Linked DNA regions of Homo sapiens: region 1 is linked to region 2. The links are contacts of gene promoters, found by promoter capture Hi-C in blood cells and fetal thymus (Javierre and others, 2016). All regions are on one chromosome and are shown on one strand. Each heading gives the region's core, a stretch centred on a gene start or on the middle of the fragment in contact. The rest is flanking DNA. Distances are from core to core; before and after follow the strand shown.

Region 1 (4,942 bases), core at 333-2,832, 2.9 Mb after region 2:
ATAGCATATTTAAAATTTTTCTGCCTTTTCTTCTATCCTCAGCTTCCTTTGGGAGCTCTCCCTCCTTCTTCTGTATGTCCGTTAAATGTTGCTGCTCTTCAGTCTTATGTCGCAGGCCCTTAAATCTTCTCACTGAACCACCTTCCTGTGGCCTCAGTTACCATCCATTGAGCTCTGTGCCGTTGGCCGCTAGTTCAACAGTCAAAATGAACCAATTATCTTAACCCCATACTTCCTCTTCCTATAAAATCTGTCCTAGGAAATTTCACCTCTTTGCCAGGCCAGAAATCAGGGCATAATATTAATAAAATAGTTAGCACATATTGTGTACTTTCTTCAGTGCCAGGCACTCTTCTAACCACTTTATATGTATTAGCTCATCAGACTCAGCCTGATAATATGAGATGAGTCCTGTCATTATCCACATATTAGATAACAAATCTGAGACATAGAAAAGTAATCTGCCTTAGGTCATTCAACTGATAAAGGATAGAGTTGGGATTTGAATGAGGGCACTCTGGTTTGAGCTTGTAATCATTATATCATAAAGGACATGATGCTTGACTTCTCTTTCTCTCACCCTAATTCAACCTATTGCCAAGTATTGTACATTCTCCATGCTTAAAATCTCTAGGCGGTGTCCCTGAAGTATAAATCCAAAGCCTTCATGCCTGTAATCCGAGTGCTTTAGGAGGCCAAGGCAGGAGGACTGCTTGAGCCCAGGAGTTTGAGACCAGCCTGGACAACAAAGTGAGATTCATCTCTACAAAAAAAAAAAAAAAAAAAAAATAGCCAGGCGTGGTGGCACATGCTGGCTAAAGGGGGAGGATTGCTTGAGCCCAGGAGGTCGGGGCTGCAGTGAGCCGTGATCACACCACTGCACTCCATCCTGGGCAATAAAGTTCAAGCATTTCACTTGGATTTAAGGTTCTTTATAATCTAACATCTACTTCTCTTGCCTTCTTATTAACTCCCCATTCTTGTATTCCTAATAACCAGCCAGTAGAATTAAATTATTTGCATGGGTCCTATCTCCTTTTCCACTAAGCTGTTGCACATTGTTAGAATTCTTTTCTTTATCCCTTTTATGTCTCAGCTTCAATGTCACATCCACTAATTAGAGCATTAGATGGCGCTCTACTGTACTTAACACCTATCACAGCATTTAGGACACTGTATTTTAATTATTGCCTTACTTGTTTTTTAGTATCTCCCACTAGATTGTGGAGGTACTTGTTTCTTGAAGGCAAGGACAGGTTCACCTTCTTTTCTTTTTTTTTCTTTTAGACGGAGTCTTGCTCTGTCGCCCAGGCTGGAGTGTAGTGGCACGATCTCGGCTCACTGCAAGCTCCGCCTCCCGGGTTCACACCACTCTTCTGCCTCAGCCTCCAGAGCTGCTGGGACTACAGGCGCCCGCCACCATGCCCGGCTAATTTTTTGTATTTTTAGTAGAGACGGGGTTTCACTGTGTTAGCCAGGATGGTCTCAATCTCCTGACCTCGTGATCCGCCTGCCTCGGCCTCCCAGAGCTGCTGGTACTACAGGCACCTGCCACCATGCCCGGCTAATTTTTTGTATTTTTAGTAGAGACGGGGTTTCACTGTGTTAGCCAGGATGGTCTCGATCTCCTGACCTCGTGATCCGCCTGCCTCGGCCTCCCAGAGTCCTGGGATTACAGGCATGAGCCACTGCGCCCGGCCAGTTCACCTTCTTAATGTCACTCATATCCATCCCCTTCTCTCTCTCTCTCTCTCCTACCGTACTTTAGGCCCTCATTATCTCTAGCATGGACAACTGCCTTAGTCCATTAACTGTTCCCCCTGTCCCTAGTCCATCCTTTATTTAATCCATACTCAACCCTGCAGAGGCAGATTCGTATAACAGCTGAGTTAACACTTCCTGCTTAACACTTCAGTGGATCTTAGCTGCCTTTTAAAAAGTCCAAATATTTTGGTTCATTACATGAATTTATCTCCTCCCATTTTCTATCTCCTTATTACCTTGTACCTAGTAGGAACTCCATAAATACTTGTTGAATGAATATGGTACTGTGTCAAAGTCAGTCAAGCAGAACCAAGAACAAAGAGGTTAACCAAAGTAATGCAGTCTCGGTTGCGAGGCTTCCTAGGACAGTATAGCCATAGGCTTAAGTGGAAGTCGAAGACTAGTAGTGTAACTCTTTCTCTTAGGAGGGAATCCCCAAACATACCTTACTATTAGATGACTCTTTGTCTTTGCATATGCCTGGAATATGCTCCTCGACCTGGCAAACTTATCAGATTTGGTGACTCAGTTCAAGTATTCCTTCCTCTATTAAACCTCTCCACACCTTTCTAGACAGAATGTAAACTGATTCAACTTTTTGTAGGTTAGTTTATAAACTACAACAAGAGTGATGAAAATATGAAGACTCTTTAATCTAGAATTGTACTTCTAAGATATTACTTAACTAAATGATTTGGGGCCAGGTGTAGTGGCCCATGCCTATAATCCCAGCACTTTGGGAGGCTGAGGCAGGAGGATCACTGAAGCCCAGGAGTTCAAGATCAACCTAGGCAACGTAGGGAGACCCCCATCTCTACAAAAAATTTAAAAATTAGCCAGGCATGGTGGCGCATACCTGTAGTCCCAGCTGCTTCAGAGGCTGAGATGTGGAGATTGCTTGAGCCCAGGAGGTCGAGGCTGCAGTGAGACAATTACAGAGTGATACCCTGTCTTAAAAATAAAAAATAAAAAAGCCTAGCTACCTAGTTATGAACTTTCTTTATTTAGAACCAAACTCTTAACCTCAAGTTATACACTTTAATAATCCATTCTATTCCCAGTTCTTCAACCTGAAGGAAAATTATATTCTAAGAAATAGAATTGGAATAGAATGATTTAAGACCATAAGTAATCAAAATACTTCATTTTCATAGCTAGTATTTTCAACCTTTTGCTGCCTAATATTTCATTAGCAATGGTAACATGAATAATGTGGAAAGCATCCAAACATAGTGAATTTATTCTTAGCCTTTGTATATAAACCTGCATACTCCCAGTTGCCTCTCTCTCTGACCTCAAGGGTTCATCCTAAGTTAATATTGATCTAAATAAAAGTTATGCTGCCAGTAAATCATATATCCCAAAGTCAAACAGGAAATTATTTTTAAAGTGTTATAAAGACATAATGAAAGCTTTCCACGGAAATGTTCATGAACACATCGTTGATAACCAGAAAAACTAGAAGCCACCTAAAATTACAGACTAAGAGACTGAGTAAACTTGTTAACAATGGAATATTAAACAGTCATTAAAGCTGATGCAAAATAGATTTAATGGGCCAACGCGGTGGCTCATGCCTGTAATCCCAGCACTTTGGGAGGCTGAGGCGGGCAGATCACCTGAGGTCAGGAGTTCCAAGACCAGCATGGCCAACATGGTGAAACCCCATGCCTACTAAAAATACAAAATTTAGCCACACGTGGTGGCAGGCGTCTGTTATCCCAGTGAGGTAGGAGAATCGCCTGAACCTGGGAGGCGGAGGTTGCGGTGAGCCAAGATCACGCCACAGCATTCCAGCCTGGGTGACAGGGCGAGACTCCGTCTCAAAAAAAAAAAAAAAAAAAAAAAAAAAAAAAAAAAAAAAAATATATATATATATATATATATATATATATATATATATATATATATAGATTGAATGTCGAATGAAATAATAGTATGGGGAGGGAAATGTGTGTGCGTATACATGCTTAGAAATAAAATGGGTTTACACCAAAATGTTAATTGTGATTAGGACTATCAATGCTTTTATTTTTTTCTTCTTGCTTGTCTGTATTTTCTCATTTTTCTCGATGAACATTTGTTACTTGTGAATTCAACATAATTTGGCTTTAAGATATAGGTAATGTGGCTGAGTGCAGTGGCTCATGCCTGTAATCCCAGCACTTTGGGAGGCCAAGGTGGGAGGACTGCTTGAGCCCAGGAGTTTGAGACCAGCCTGGGCAACATGGTGAAATCCTGTCTGTAAGAGAAAAAAAAAAGATATATTACATAATGTATTTGCAGCAGACTTATTGTTTGAAAACTGTGAAATTATTTCAACTGAAATTATTTGAAATTTGTCTTCATTTATTTCTTTTGAATACTTGGTTATAGCATTGCTAAAGACTAATTGTAAAGCTAAAAGCCAAAAGCAACTGCACTGGATACTTTAAGTTTGGATTAAATAACCGATAATTGATAGTTAGAAAATAGAATTTAATGTTCCTTTTCTCGATGAATTAATTTGTTTGTCTTCCATTTTTAAAAGCATGCTGATCCCATTTTCAATGAAGAATTGCTTCCAGTTACTTTGTAACTGCCAGGTCCCAGCAGCTGGCTTTAAAAAAACAGTAAAAAATGGGCTCATTTTACAGTCAATTTCCAATGATGTCTATCAAAATCTGGCTGTGGAAGACTGGATCCATGACCATATGAATCTAGAAGGCAAACCAATTCTATTCTTTTGGCAGAATTCTCCCTCTGTTGTAATTGGTAGGCATCAAAATCCTTGGCAGGAATGTAACCTGAATCTAATGAGAGAAGAAGGTATAAAACTGGCTCGGAGAAGAAGTGGAGGAGGAACAGTCTACCATGATATGGGTAATATCAATTTGACTTTCTTTACAACCAAAAAAAAGTATGATAGAATGGAAAATCTGAAATTAATTGTGAGAGCTCTGAATGCTGTCCAACCCCAGCTGGATGTGCAGGCTACCAAAAGATTTGACCTTTTACTTGATGGACAGTTTAAAATCTCAGGAACAGCTTCTAAGATCGGCCGGACTACTGCCTATCACCATTGCACTTTATTATGTAGTACTGATGGGACGTTCTTGTCTTCTTTGCTAAAGAGCCCTTACCAAGGGATCAGGAGCAATGCCACTGCTAGCATACCTTCCTTAGTGAAAAATCTTTT
Region 2 (4,389 bases), core at 962-3,461:
CTAGCTTTCTAGATCTGATGGGTCTAGTGGTGGGAAGGTGGTATGTGTGCTTCAAAGAAAGCAAGTACAGGGCAATGTGCTAAAAGAAAAACCACCAAGACTCACTCAAGCTTAATGCTCTTTGTGCCATTAGCAACATGACAGAGAAAAGGCTGCATATAAGGCCTCTGTCGTGTGCATAACTTTGGCTTTAATGAGCCAACCCAGCAAAGAGTACCATTAAGGTGAAATCTGGAAACAACCAGTTGTCCCCAACCTTCTACAAAATCACCCTACAGCTTCTAAAACTCAAGAGAGATGCAAAACAGTAAGAGAACACTCAGAGAAAGGCAACATTTGGCCACAAGGATGAGGCTTTTCAGCCTAGACCTGCAGAAGCAGAGTATGGTCCGATGCACAGCGGGGAACTTGGACCTTTTCACCAAATCCCAGTGCCTGAATTCTTCAGGAGGTAACACGCAGATATCTAACAGGAAGTGCTTCTGATAGGCGGTGCAGTAAACATCTGGAATGCATCACAGCCAGGGAATAGCACAGACAGGATAGCACAGAGAGGATATAAGACCTTCAAGATGGCTCAAAAGACCTTGGGGTTGATGAACTATGCTGTTACTAAGGACTGTTTGGGGTACATTGATCATTGTTAGGGTAAAAAGCAGGTGATACAGTCCAGTCCTGTCCTCACACTTCACAATTTTTACTGGAGACAAGAATGGGCAGGATAAACTATGGGGCCCATAGGACCCTCCCATCGTCTGCTGTCTATCTGGCCGGAAAGCATGATGATGAACAAAGCAACCTTGCCTCTGTCAGGCACACCTATAATGGTTCCAAGAGCCACATTCCGACTGTTGTACTGCGGGTGGCAATGGAACGGTCTTCCGATTACCTAAAATGCCACAGATTCCCTTCTTCTCTAATACGCATCCGATTACCATAGAACTCTAAGATATCTTTTAAAACCTAGTCATATTAAAAGTTCCTTTTTCTCCATTAATCAGTCTGCCCCAAAGAAGCTTTTCCGTATTTCACAGGATCCTTAGAAGAGGCCAGCTAACTGTGATACCTAGCACCCTTATCTTTTCTCGATACACAGCGTCCTTCCTCCAGCAGAATCCTAAAATAGCAGCAGTCCGGATTAACATGGCTGTGAGGAGTAGGTGCTTAGCTGAATAACATCAGAATTAATGAGGGGCCGGACCCCAAACAGAGCCACCTGGTGGGCATGAACACCAGGCAGTTATGGGGCCGTTTCCTTCAACCAAGTGTCTGGTCCCTGGCTATCTCTGCTTCAGCCAGAACACATTCTGTCCCCCACCGAGGCTTTAAGGGCCAGCGCGCAGCACCCTCACCTTTCAGCAGGTCCGGGTGCACATAGCCCAACACGTCGGAGACCCCCAGCTCCTGGCGCGAACAGGTGCCTCCGTGGATGTGCAACCAGGCGGGCTCGGCGAGGGCAGTGCACAGCGCCGTGATAGACAGGGCGCCAGGCAGGGCCGAGGCCAGGCTACGCTCCGGCTGCTTGGGCAGAGCGCTGCCTCCCGGGCTCCTCCGCCGGCGCCCGCCGGGCAGCCCTGCGCCTCCGGGGGCGTACATGCCCGGGGCCGCCCGCCGTCGCTCCGCAGTCGCTGCTGGTCGCCGCCGACCTCCGCGGGGCGCGCAGAGCCTGACAGTCCGGTGGAGGATAGCAACGCTCCGGGTTCGCTGCAGGTGAAGCCGGGACTGGGCTGTCAGGGTTGACACCAGAGGATAGGGGGGTGGGACCCGGGGCTGACGGAGACGGGGAGGGCTGCGGGAATTCGGGGGGCGGAGACAGGAGACTCCGGAATGGGACTGCGGGACGACAACCGAAGAGGGCCAGGGGCCAGATGGGGTCTGGGCAGACTCGAGTGGGGGGCGGAGGGATCGGGGATCGGCTACTGCTAGAGCAAAGACCCGGAGTCAGGGTCTCAGCCAGAGGATGCCGAGGGGCGGAGGACCGGGCTGGGCCGCGGGGATCGGGGACCCGTGATCTGGGACCGGCGGTTTGGGGTGCGACCTGTGCGCAGAAAAGACCCTCCCCACGCCGCCCACTGTTCCTCACCAGTCAGCAGGCCCCAGGGCTGGGATGGTGCTGCTCAGCCCAGTCACGGGCTTCTCGGCTGCCGGGGGCCGAGCGTTCCCAGGCCCCAATCCCGCAACGCCCGGACAGACCCGGGGCCGATGCACTTCCGGCTTCCTCCTCCTCTGCCTCCGCCTCCTCCGGCTCCCCGCCCCGTCCCCCGCGCGCGTCACAGCCTGGGCGCGCCGCCGGCTCTGCGCAGGGCCTCACGGGACTGGTAGTTCGAGGCGGTCCCGCGATGCTTTCCCTGCCGAGGTGAGGGGAGCGACTACAACTCCCAGAGGGTATGGCGGCCGCAGCAGTGGGCAGTTGAGTTTCCGGGGCGACCCAGGTCCTCCGGCGGAAGCGGGAGCCTCTGTCGGCCGCGGAAGCCTGGAGTGGGCGGTACGCAGACGCGCGCGGTGAGACCCGCTGTCTGCTCAGCGGACTCTGCCCGCCCCCACCTCCCCCTGCGTCGGGCCGACATGAAGGACTCGCTGGTGCTGCTGGGCCGTGTCCCGGCGCACCCGGACTCCCGCTGCTGGTTCCTGGCCTGGAACCCCGCGGGGACCCTGCTGGCCTCGTGCGGCGGCGACCGGAGAATCCGCATCTGGGGCACGGAGGGTAAGGCCCAGCCTGGTTGCGCGGCCCTCAGCGCTGAGGGCTCAGCCTGCGCGTAGTGCAGGCGCTCAGCCTGCAGGGGAGGCTGAACCTGTTCCTGGCGGAGGGAGAGTGGGATGTTAGCCACGCCGAGAAGGGCTTTACAGGCAAAGAAGTCTGCGACTGTTGGGAGGAAAAACGTCAGCAGACAAGCTGAAATGTCAAGGGAATTGTGTTAGCTGCAGAGGCAGGAAAATGGGAAAAGAGAGGTGTTAGGAAAGTGGCCTTCAGAGTAACTTGCGACTGGATGGTCACATTTTATCCCGAGGGCATTGGGGAACCAATAGCAATTTTAGATCAGATTTGTTTTAGAAAGATGCCTCCAGAGGTTGGGCGCGGTGGCTCACGCCTGTAATCCTAGCAGTTTGGGAAGCAGAGGCGGGTAGATCACCTGAGGTCAAGAGGTCAAGACCAGCCTGGCCAACATGGTGAAACCCCGTCTCTACTAAAACTACAAAATTAGCTGGGCGTTGTGGCGGGCACCTGTAATCCCAGCTACTCGGGAGGCTGAGGCAGGAGAATCCCTTGAACCCAGGAGGCGAAGATTGCAGTGAGCCGAGATTGTGCCATTGCACCCCAGCCTGGGCATCAGAGCAAAAACTCCGTCTCAAAAAAAAAAAAAAAAAAAAAAAAAAGCTTCCAGACGAAGTAGATTCATTTGCATCTTTGTAAAAGCTGTGAAATACACTCCCTGAGCTTTCCCCCACTAGCTTGATTCCAGTGCTAGCCCCTGATATTGAATGGCTTCATGGTGCTGCACCCAGCTCCAGAGCCTGGCCTGCGCTCCGCCTTTAGGTGACAGCTGGATCTGCAAGTCTGTCCTTTCTGAAGGCCACCAGCGCACCGTGCGGAAGGTAGCCTGGTCCCCCTGCGGTAATTACCTGGCCTCTGCCAGCTTTGATGCTACCACTTGCATTTGGAAGAAGAACCAGGATGACTTTGAGGTACCCAGGCTGGTTGGGACCAGAATTATTGCCTGTTTCCTCCCCAGGGCTGGTTCAGGAACCTGAGCCAACCTGCGCCAGTTGGGCTGTACCCATGGGAAGGGGCTTAGGGGTGTTAGCTGCTGTTAATTCTCATTTTCTTTCCCCTTTCACAGTGTGTAACCACTCTCGAGGGCCATGAAAATGAGGTCAAGTCAGTGGCTTGGGCCCCATCTGGCAACCTCCTGGCCACTTGCAGCCGAGATAAGAGCGTTTGGGTCTGGGAAGGTGAGGCCAGGTCCCTCCAGGTGGATTGGGAACCACCTGACAGCCCCCTCTGTGTCCCTGACAGGGTCGGCTCTTGGGTCCCCTTTTTCTCTCCCACAGTTGATGAAGAGGATGAGTATGAATGTGTCAGTGTTCTCAACTCCCACACACAGGATGTCAAGCATGTGGTTTGGCACCCAAGTCAGGAGGTAAGAGTCAAGCAGGGACTCTTGTGGGAAGGGCTCTGGTGTGCAGGCTTGTGCCCAGCCTTCCTCTGCTTTTCAGCCTTAATCTAGCTTTTACGGAGAGTTCCATCTGTGAACAAAAAACATTAGTCCCTTTATAAAAACAGATCCGGCTGGGTGTGGTGGCTCACACCTATAATCTCAGCACTTTGGGAGGCCATGGTGGGTGGATCATCTGAGGTCAGGAGTTCGAGACCAGCCTGGCCAACATGGT

Evidence for each region. The method cuts DNA at HindIII sites, captures the fragments that hold promoters and counts their contacts. A CHiCAGO score of 5 or more calls a contact.
Region 1: a contact is called between a fragment that was not itself captured here and the fragment with the promoter of TMEM127 in region 2, in 1 of 17 cell types (non-activated CD4 T cells). The highest score is 5.7, in non-activated CD4 T cells.

Annotation. Positions count from the first base shown.
Region 1 is chr2:99,157,663-99,162,604 of GRCh38, forward strand. It overlaps LIPT1 (lipoyltransferase 1), which reads left to right. Exons shown (of 2, transcript NM_145199.3): 2 at 4,295-4,942. The coding sequence starts at 4,296. It also overlaps a transcript of MITD1 not described here. Among named protein-coding and RNA genes, the nearest start is that of LIPT1, 5.2 kb to the left of the region's middle. The HindIII fragment of the contact is 3,184 bases long and covers 1-3,174 here.
Region 2 is chr2:96,263,786-96,268,174 of GRCh38, forward strand. TMEM127 (transmembrane protein 127) reads right to left here and starts at 2,212. Exons shown (of 4, transcript NM_017849.4): 1 at 2,084-2,212; 2 at 1,353-1,727. The coding sequence starts at 1,596. CIAO1 (cytosolic iron-sulfur assembly component 1) reads left to right here and starts at 2,440. Exons shown (of 7, transcript NM_004804.3): 1 at 2,440-2,704; 2 at 3,536-3,684; 3 at 3,840-3,951; 4 at 4,051-4,139. The coding sequence starts at 2,566. RefSeq lists silencers at 1,472-1,781, 1,832-2,041, 2,052-2,101 and enhancers at 2,332-2,521, 2,752-3,031, 3,629-4,389. The HindIII fragment of the contact is 2,360 bases long and covers 1,015-3,374 here.